Linked DNA regions of Homo sapiens: regions 1 and 2 are each linked to region 3. The links are contacts of gene promoters, found by promoter capture Hi-C in blood cells and fetal thymus (Javierre and others, 2016). All regions are on one chromosome and are shown on one strand. The core of a region is centred on a gene start or on the middle of the fragment in contact, and the rest is flanking DNA. Distances in the headings are between cores, read along the strand shown.

What was found. Contacts are between HindIII fragments. The CHiCAGO score rates a contact against its expected background, and 5 or more counts as called.
Region 1: a contact is called between a fragment that was not itself captured here and the fragment with the promoter of FAM83F in region 3, in 1 of 17 cell types (M0 macrophages). The highest score is 5.2, in M0 macrophages.
Region 2: a fragment that was not itself captured here is called in contact with the fragment with the promoter of FAM83F in region 3 in 3 of 17 cell types (M0 macrophages, M1 macrophages and M2 macrophages); the score reaches 7.1 in M0 macrophages.

What each region holds. Positions count from the first base shown.
Region 1 is chr22:39,765,204-39,767,903 of GRCh38, forward strand. It overlaps ENTHD1 (ENTH domain containing 1), which reads right to left. Exons shown (of 7, transcript NM_152512.4): 6 at 20-406. Among named protein-coding and RNA genes, the nearest start is that of ENTHD1, 130 kb to the right of the region's middle. The HindIII fragment of the contact is 606 bases long and covers 948-1,553 here.
Region 2 is chr22:39,742,275-39,744,974 of GRCh38, forward strand. ENTHD1 (ENTH domain containing 1) reads right to left here. Exons shown (of 7, transcript NM_152512.4): 7 at 770-2,009. The coding sequence ends at 1,405. Among named protein-coding and RNA genes, the nearest start is that of ENTHD1, 150 kb to the right of the region's middle. The HindIII fragment of the contact is 1,525 bases long and covers 631-2,155 here.
Region 3 is chr22:39,993,513-39,996,212 of GRCh38, forward strand. FAM83F (family with sequence similarity 83 member F) reads left to right here and starts at 1,442. Exons shown (of 5, transcript NM_138435.4): 1 at 1,442-2,019. The coding sequence starts at 1,531. LOC124905155 reads left to right here. Exons shown (of 2, transcript XM_047441700.1): 2 at 836-1,256. The coding sequence ends at 1,256. RefSeq lists an enhancer at 1,157-1,790 and a silencer at 1,365-1,484. The HindIII fragment of the contact is 8,768 bases long and covers 6-2,700 here.

The DNA of each region.
Region 1 (2,700 bases), core at 1-2,500, 230 kb before region 3:
GTGTGTTTGGCAGACTCACCCCGTGTGGTTGTCTTGAGGATTTTATCATCCATCTGAATGCTGGATTGTGCTGGTTTCTGGTAGGCCTTGTTGATTACAATCTCCTTCACTCGGTCAAATATTTTGAATGAGGGAGAGAGACAGAGTGTTTCTACAGAGGCCTGGTTATGGAAAGTAGAATCTGACTTTGATACCCTTAAGTCGGGGCTGATAAACTCCTCTTTACTTGACCAACATGCTGGTAAAATTGTCAATGTTTTAAGACCTTCTGCAGCTGATTGCTTTTCTAAAGGTGTTTCCAAGAGGTTTTCTGTGACAGTATTTGTAAAGATACCATCTGATCTCTTGTCCAAACTCACATCTCTCTGCCCAGAAGGACTATTTTCTGAGAGAGTAGGCACAGCATCTATAAAAGAACAAATAAGAGCTATAATCAAAAAATAAAACTGAAAATACTCTATTTCAAATCTGTTATAATTTTAATAAATAGGATTTTTTAATGTCATAACAGAATTCTTTCCTATTTAGCCCTCTGCTTTCTTACTATGCTTCTATATTCTGCCTATTTAAAGTACACCCAAGCTATAATTGACGCCTTAGTCATTTTGGTAGCTGCCTTCTCCCTCTCTCCTCACTGAAGCACAAAGCAAGGAAAGCTTCAAATAACTTGTCTTTAAATATTTCTCCCTTCACCCACTTATCTGTCGCTGAAACCACCATATTTTTAGTACTTTCCAACTTTCATCTTTTTTACAAGATAAACTAGGGAAAATATGCCACATCATACTGGTCTATCCTTACAGAACCCTCAGCTACAAAAAAAAAAAAAAAAAAAAAAAAAAAAAAGAAAGAAAAAGAAAAGCTTTCTCCCCAAAAATAAAGAATGTCTTCTTCCACACAGTTTCTATATGCAAGGCACATTAAAGAAACTCAGTACTTTAGGTAGAAGCTTAATTTTAATAAATGCTTTGTCTATACGGAAGAAAGGAAACAATCTTTCAGAGCTGTTCTGACAATTAGTAAAATATAAGTTCCACTGGGCTGGAGATCTTTGTCCATTCTAGTGGTTAATATCACCAAAGTACATAAAATAGTCCCTAGAATATAACAAACAATATTTATTACAAATAGAAAACACTGAAGGAATTGTAAGAAACTGAAACTGAAGGTGGGCCTGATCCAGGAATGTCTATTGAATCTACGCATTATAGACCTGGTCCGAGTTTCTAGATGCAAATTCTTAGGAACACCCTCAGCGCCAGGGCTTGCTCTGTAACAGCTCCATCTGAACCGGGATACGAAAAGAAAGACCGTTATTTTTATGAGGTTGTGTTCATGAAACGAGAAGCATGATGAGGTAGAAGAGGGCCAAAGGAAGAGGCTATCTTTCGAAGCTCCCAAAAGAGGACGCAGAAATTGTGTGATTCACTATTGAGTGATTATACATCACAATGTATGTCATAAAATACTTCAGAATGCACATTTACATGCTATCCTCATCACTTTTGGGCTCTGAGTTATTAAAGAAAAGAAACTTTTCTTTGTCTCTATAAAGCTTCCTTTTCATTTTCATCTGCAGTTGGAGGTTAGCCTTAGCAAAAATACTGCTGGTATGTACCACAGAATTAAGACAGTTCAAGAAACTTACATTGCTATCTTCACCAGAAATTCCATTTTTCTTCCATCCTCTCATCTTTTAAAACTCAATTCAAGTATCACTTTCTCTTTAAAGCTTGCCCTGACCCTTTTCTTTCCTCACCCTATCCTATTATTGTCTATCTTCACATGTCCTGTTTGAAGCTCTGTGAGTAATTATAACACTTCATATCTCATTTATCTTGTCCCCTACCTGACAAAAGTCTCCTTGAGGAGACCTTGCAAGGAGTCATCTTCGTGTCTCAGCACCTAACAGTGCCATTCCCAGAGGACAGGTTCAATGAATGCTCATTGGGTGCAAGGGAAACTGAAGCACAAAGATGAAAGAAAAAGTAACGCCTTCATTTTTCTAAACTGAATATAGTTTAACTGCTTAATAATGATTAAAGGAAATAGGTAGATGAAAAGAACCTCTCCTAAAATATTCCTAATTTGCATATGACTGAATTATATTTAGATGATTGAAAGTCTGTTAAAAATACCAAATATAAGCCAGGCGCAGTGCCTGTAGTCCCAGCTACTGGGAGGCTGAGGTGGGAAAATCACTTGAGCCCAGGAGTTTGAGACCAGCCTGGGCAACATTGTGAGACCCCATTTCTATGAAAAACAAAACAAAACAAAACAAAACACCCAAACGAATATATTCCTAGTTGAGTACTAGATTACTAGATTTATGGTATTTCAAAGTGACTTTGCATATCACCACATTTACATCAAATCATTCATTAAAAGTGAATTTTAGTTAAATATTTTTCCATTGACTTTCATTTTACATGTGAGAAAAACAAGACAAAAATGTTTTGCTCTATATGTAATAAGATCATCTTAAAATTTAGCAATATTAAACTAGGACATTTCAGAATGACCAGAACTTTCTGATGAAAATATTCACAATACTTAATCTAAATCTCAAAATTCAGATGCATAAAGTTGTCTGTATGGCTGCCATTTTAAGGTTTAGTAAAAAAGTTTAAAATGAAACAAATGAACAAATCCTTAAAATTCAATGAAGCAAACCAGACAGAAGTCATTCCATTTCTACCC
Region 2 (2,700 bases), core at 143-2,642, 250 kb before region 3:
GAGTGCAGTGGCACAATCTTGGCTCACTGCAAGCTCCACCTCCAGAGTTCAAGCGATTCTCTGCCTCAGCCTCCCGAGTAGCTGGGATTACAGGTGCCCGCCACCATGCCCGGCTAATTTTTTTTTGTATTTTTAGTAGAGACGGGATTTCACCATCTTGCCCAGGCTGGTCTTGAACTCCTGACCTCGTGATCCACCTGCCTCGGCCTCCCAAAGTGCTGGGATTACAGATGTAAGCTGCCACACCAGGTCTCTCTAACAGTGGTTTTTAAGAACCTATGTCATCTGTCATCTTTGCTCCATGACCTTGAACTCCGTCTACTCTCCCCTTTGCTCACTTCACTCCAGCCACACCAGCTTTCTTGCCATTCTTCAACCACGCCAAATTCCTCCAGCTTTAAGGTCTTTTCACTGACAATTCCTTTATCACTTAATCCAGTCTGCATGATGAAAACCAGTTTCAATTTGTCTGGGAGCAGGACCCTGGCATTAGTATATTTTTAAAATGTTTCGTATGTCTTCAAAATAATCAGGATTATTTTAGCCTCGAGTTGGTAATTGTTGAAACTGAGTGATGGGCACATGGAGCCCATTACACGATTCTCTCAGACAAATATAAAACAAAAGAAAAGCTTCTGTGGTGATTCCAGTGTGCAGCAGGGTTGGGAATCACTGGCCTGTAATCCCCAAACCGGACTGTTTTGCCCATAAATAACAGACATTTCTATTTGAAAGGCTGTCTTAATGAATTAAAAAGATACACAGAAGATGAAAAATATCAAATTTATTTTCTGAAGTAGAATAAAAGGATGCATTTGAATTCACCTTGCAATATACATTGACAGTAAAAACATTTGCCCCATGTCCTTCTTGTTTCCATTTAACTCCTAACACTAGCATCTGGAAGAAAGAAAAGATTTCTGGCCCTTGGTTGCAGAACCTAAAACTTGCAAAAGAATGTGTGAAATGTATACCCCCAAACTCAATCCTCCTAGGTCACCTCAGAGGCTTGTTAACAAGCTCCATACAGTTGAAAGATAAAGAGCTTCTTCCTGCCTCCTTATCCAAAAGCTCTTGAATAGTCATTTGCAGTTTGAGGTCTTACCACAATTTTCACTAATGCTTAACCCATTTGAGGTACAGAGCATGAAAGAATGAAATTCTCTTCTGTTTCAAATGAACTAATATCTAAATCTGAAATTATCAAAGGTGACATCTTTCCCTTTTAAAAAATAAACCACCCAAATGAAAGTATTAGTTTGAAAGATACTTGCTAATAAACCTGACAAGGAAAAATTAAACCATCCCCTTTTTTGCCATAATAATATGAATTTATACAATGCTAACGTAAGTCTTGGGGAAGTGGAACCACACGAGTTCTATCAAAAATAGATATTGTGATGATTAGATCTGATCTGAGCTCCCCTCAGAAGACTGGGGGACCTGGGAAGACTGGCTTATTTGTGAACTATTCAGACTCATGCTCATCAAGATGTTATTGATGACATTAAGTTCTTGGATCACTGTGCTCAGATCTTCATGTAATCTAGCGATCGCACGTTTTACCTCCCTTAAAAGAACACTAATGGAATTCTTTGCTTCAGGTTCCTGGGGGAAGTCTTTGGTTGACTGAAAACCAGAACAGGACAGAGGGATGAACTGGTCTACATTTTGGGTGGAAAACTCCCCCCAGTGACTACTAGAAATGTGACTTATATTCTTTTTAGCAGAATCAGAGTTATTTGGAAGAATTCCCAGTAGATTGAGGCTATCATTTTCCTCTACATCAGAAGACACTGGGCCCCTAGAAGCAAAGGAGTGATGCAGCTTGGCTGTCTTATCTTCATCTTTAAAGGAGGTAGAAGACAACTGTTGATGGGACAGAGTCCAGAAGGAAGGTCCGGCCAGAATTGGTGATAAGAGATGAGCTGACTTCTCTGGAGAGGCTAAATCAGGAGATGACATGGATAAAGGAGAAAAGGAAGATGCTCCCTCAGAAGCAGTTGAAACTAAAATGTGTAAATGAGAGAAAAAAGATTTATGCAACATACAAATGAGAGTAATAGCTAAAATAATTTTATAATGTAAAAGCCTATCTGGAAGGGCTCAACATAAATAAACTGCTTAGAATTTTAAATGTTAACTATTCATAATAAGCTTAAAAAAACCCAAAGCAGGAAACTAAGAAAATCTACAGATGTATTATATATCAATAATACCATGGAAATGAAACTAAAATAGAATTATCAATATTCATCTTGACTCATCTTGACTCAAACCCTGCCCAACATATTTTTACACTAAACTTAATCAGAGAGAGTAGAAAAGTATTAAACCCCATTCTACTGACTGCCAGCATTTTAAGTTGGTATTTAAAGTAGAAAGTGAGAAACCTGTAACAGATTCCTTCAACTTTTTAATTTTTTTTCCTGTAGAGATTATTATGGCAAAATGAACTACCAACTACAAGTACCCAAAAGTTAGTGAAATAAATATTTTTCTGTCTATAGTGAAATATAATCAAGACTGAAGTCCAACACATCTGAAATCTAGAATACTTTAGCACACGTATATAATCATTTTTTTTCTCACCAAGAAACTAAGTGAAGTAAAAAGCATTCTAAGCCTTTTTTTCCATAAAATTACATATTTGGGAAAGTTTTTACTTCCTTTCTGGCAAAATCATATTAAATCTCCCAC
Region 3 (2,700 bases), core at 192-2,691:
AGTGAAGCTTTCCAGTTCCCAAGAGGGGTAAAGGACAAGTGAGGTGATGGACACCTTGCTGCTCACCACTCCCAATCTTTGGGCTGACACAGGATGCCAGAACTGATTATTGTAAAAAAAAAAATAATAATAACAATAATGTGCAGACATTTGAAAATCTAACTCTCATTTTTTCCAGAGCATGAAAGGAAGGCCTAGAAATGGTAAGTGACCTTTTCAAATCCCCTGGGGTGAAAACCAGGTCCCCAATAACCTGTCGTTTCACAAGAAAAGGAGAAAGGGTAAAGGCGGCCGTGATGTCAGCGAAAGACCTCCAAGACAGAAAACCTTGCAGTCCCCGTGCTCTGCCTCTTTCACGGGAGACCTGGGCAACGCACACGTTGCTAGGCCTCAATTTCTTCAACTGTAAAATGAGGGGGTTGGAGGAGCTTGAAAAGCTCCTTCCAGCTCTGAGATGCTGCGCTATAAAGTGAGAGAAATGTGAACCTTTAGTTGTTATGATCTGAAAATATTTTGAATGTGGAGAATCAAATTGTAGAGCAGTGCATGAACAACATAATATGTTAATGACTAAGACGATTGTATTTAATCCGATGGGAAACAGCAGAGCTGCTGCCACCGCTGCTGTGTGTGTGCGTGTGTGTGGTGTGCACGCACGTGCGGTTTCCTTCCTTGAGCTCAAACATACATTTTGAATCACTAATATAGTAATCATGTCTCTGGCAGCCTATCTTGCCCAAACACACACGGAGAGACACCACACACCCTACTTCAAATTAAGGTGGGGGCGGGGGGAATTCCACTGCTGCTCTTTACATCATTTCTGTTTGGATAGCTATTTTTTAAAAGAAAGTTTTACAGTGAAGGTGTTGGACTCCCAGCCCAGAAGGGCTCTGATCTCAGAACTGGGACGCAAGGGTGGGGAGCTCGAGCTCTCATTAGCATTTCGCTTTTGCACACCCCCTGCCCGCTCCTCAGCCGTCACAATCCCGTCCTGCAGCAGGCCCCCCCACCAACACCGGACCCTCGACGGGGAAGGGGTCAGCTCGGCGGCCCCAGAGGCCACTGGGCCAGAACACGTGCTCCGGACTCCACGTGCGCGGAAAATGAACTCGTACCCGCGACGCGGCCGGCGGGGGCGGATGGCAGCGAGGGCCGGACAGCGAACCTTTACCCCGCGGAGGAGTCGGGGCCGGAGCCCGCACGTGGGTCTGCGACGGCCCCGCCCCCTGGGGGCGTCCCCTCAGGGACTCTAGCCCCGGCTGGTGGGCCCTGCAGGCCCGGGCCCGACCGCGTCCGCCAGGCCGCCCGGAGGTCCCGGCGAGCCCGGCGGAGGCGGCGGCCCCTCCCCGCCCGACGGCCACGCCCGCGCGGATTGGCCGCTCCCCGACGGCGGGGCGGGGCGGGACGGGCCGGGGCAGAGCTCGCGGCCAGGTGAGGCGCCCCGCCCCTCGGCGGCTCCAGGTGCGGCTGTGGGACCTCGGACCGCGGCGGGGCCGGGGCCAGGGCCGGGGCCGGGGCCGGGGCGCCATGGCCGAGTCCCAGCTGAACTGCCTGGACGAGGCGCACGTGAACGAGAAGGTGACCGAGGCGCAGGCCGCCTTCTACTACTGCGAGCGGCGGCGGGCCGCGCTGGAGGCGCTGCTGGGCGGCGGCGAGCAGGCCTACCGCGAGCGGCTCAAGGAGGAGCAGCTGCGGGACTTCCTCTCCAGCCCGGAGCGCCAGGCCCTGCGGGCCGCCTGGAGCCCCTACGAGGACGCCGTCCCCGCCGCCAACGCCCGGGGCAAGAGCAAGGCCAAGGCCAAGGCCCCCGCGCCGGCGCCGGCTGAGTCCGGCGAGTCCCTGGCCTACTGGCCCGACCGTTCCGACACCGAGGTGCCTCCTCTGGACCTGGGCTGGACGGACACTGGTTTCTACCGCGGCGTGAGCCGGGTCACGCTCTTCACCCACCCGCCCAAGGACGAGAAGGCGCCGCACCTCAAGCAGGTGGTCAGGCAGATGATCCAACAGGCCCAGAAGGTAGGCCCCCGCCTTCGCCCCCACACCGCTGGGACCTCGGCCCCAGTCCCCTGGACCGGGCCCCACCTCCCAGGCAGGGCCCGGGGCAGGCCGCCCTGAGCACCCTCTGGAAAATGGGCCCCAACCCGCCCCTACTTCCTGGGGCTGCAGTGAGGCCTGTAGAGCGAATGGCTGGGAACGTGTTTGGCAAATTACAAGGTGCTGGACAGATGTCAGCCGTCGGTATTCCAGCGTTCAGAGGCACTGGCTCTGCTCTGTACTTCTGAAACTTCCCTGTCCAGCCTTCCTCCCCAGGGAAGACTGGGGGCCGAGGCCCTGTGGTTAAAATGCACCACTCAAAGGTCTTGATGATAACCTACGTGCTGCCCAGAACATATCCCGAGCCGCTTTCTCATGTGATCGTCAAAACAACTTCAGGGAGTGGGTGGCGGTGACCTTCCCGGTCCCACCTCTGCCATGCTGCTCCTTGGACCACCCCTCTCCTCCCATAGTCAAAGCTGAGCTGGCGCCCTCACAGTCACAGCCTCTCCTGGGCCGGGTACTAGGCCCCAGCTGCCTGGAATGAATGGGGGACGGGGTATATTGAGGACCTACTGTGTGCCTGGCCCTGTGCTGGGCGCCTTGGCACAGCAGGTCACCTGACTCGGCAGCTCAGGAAAGGGCTCCTACTTAGCATATGTG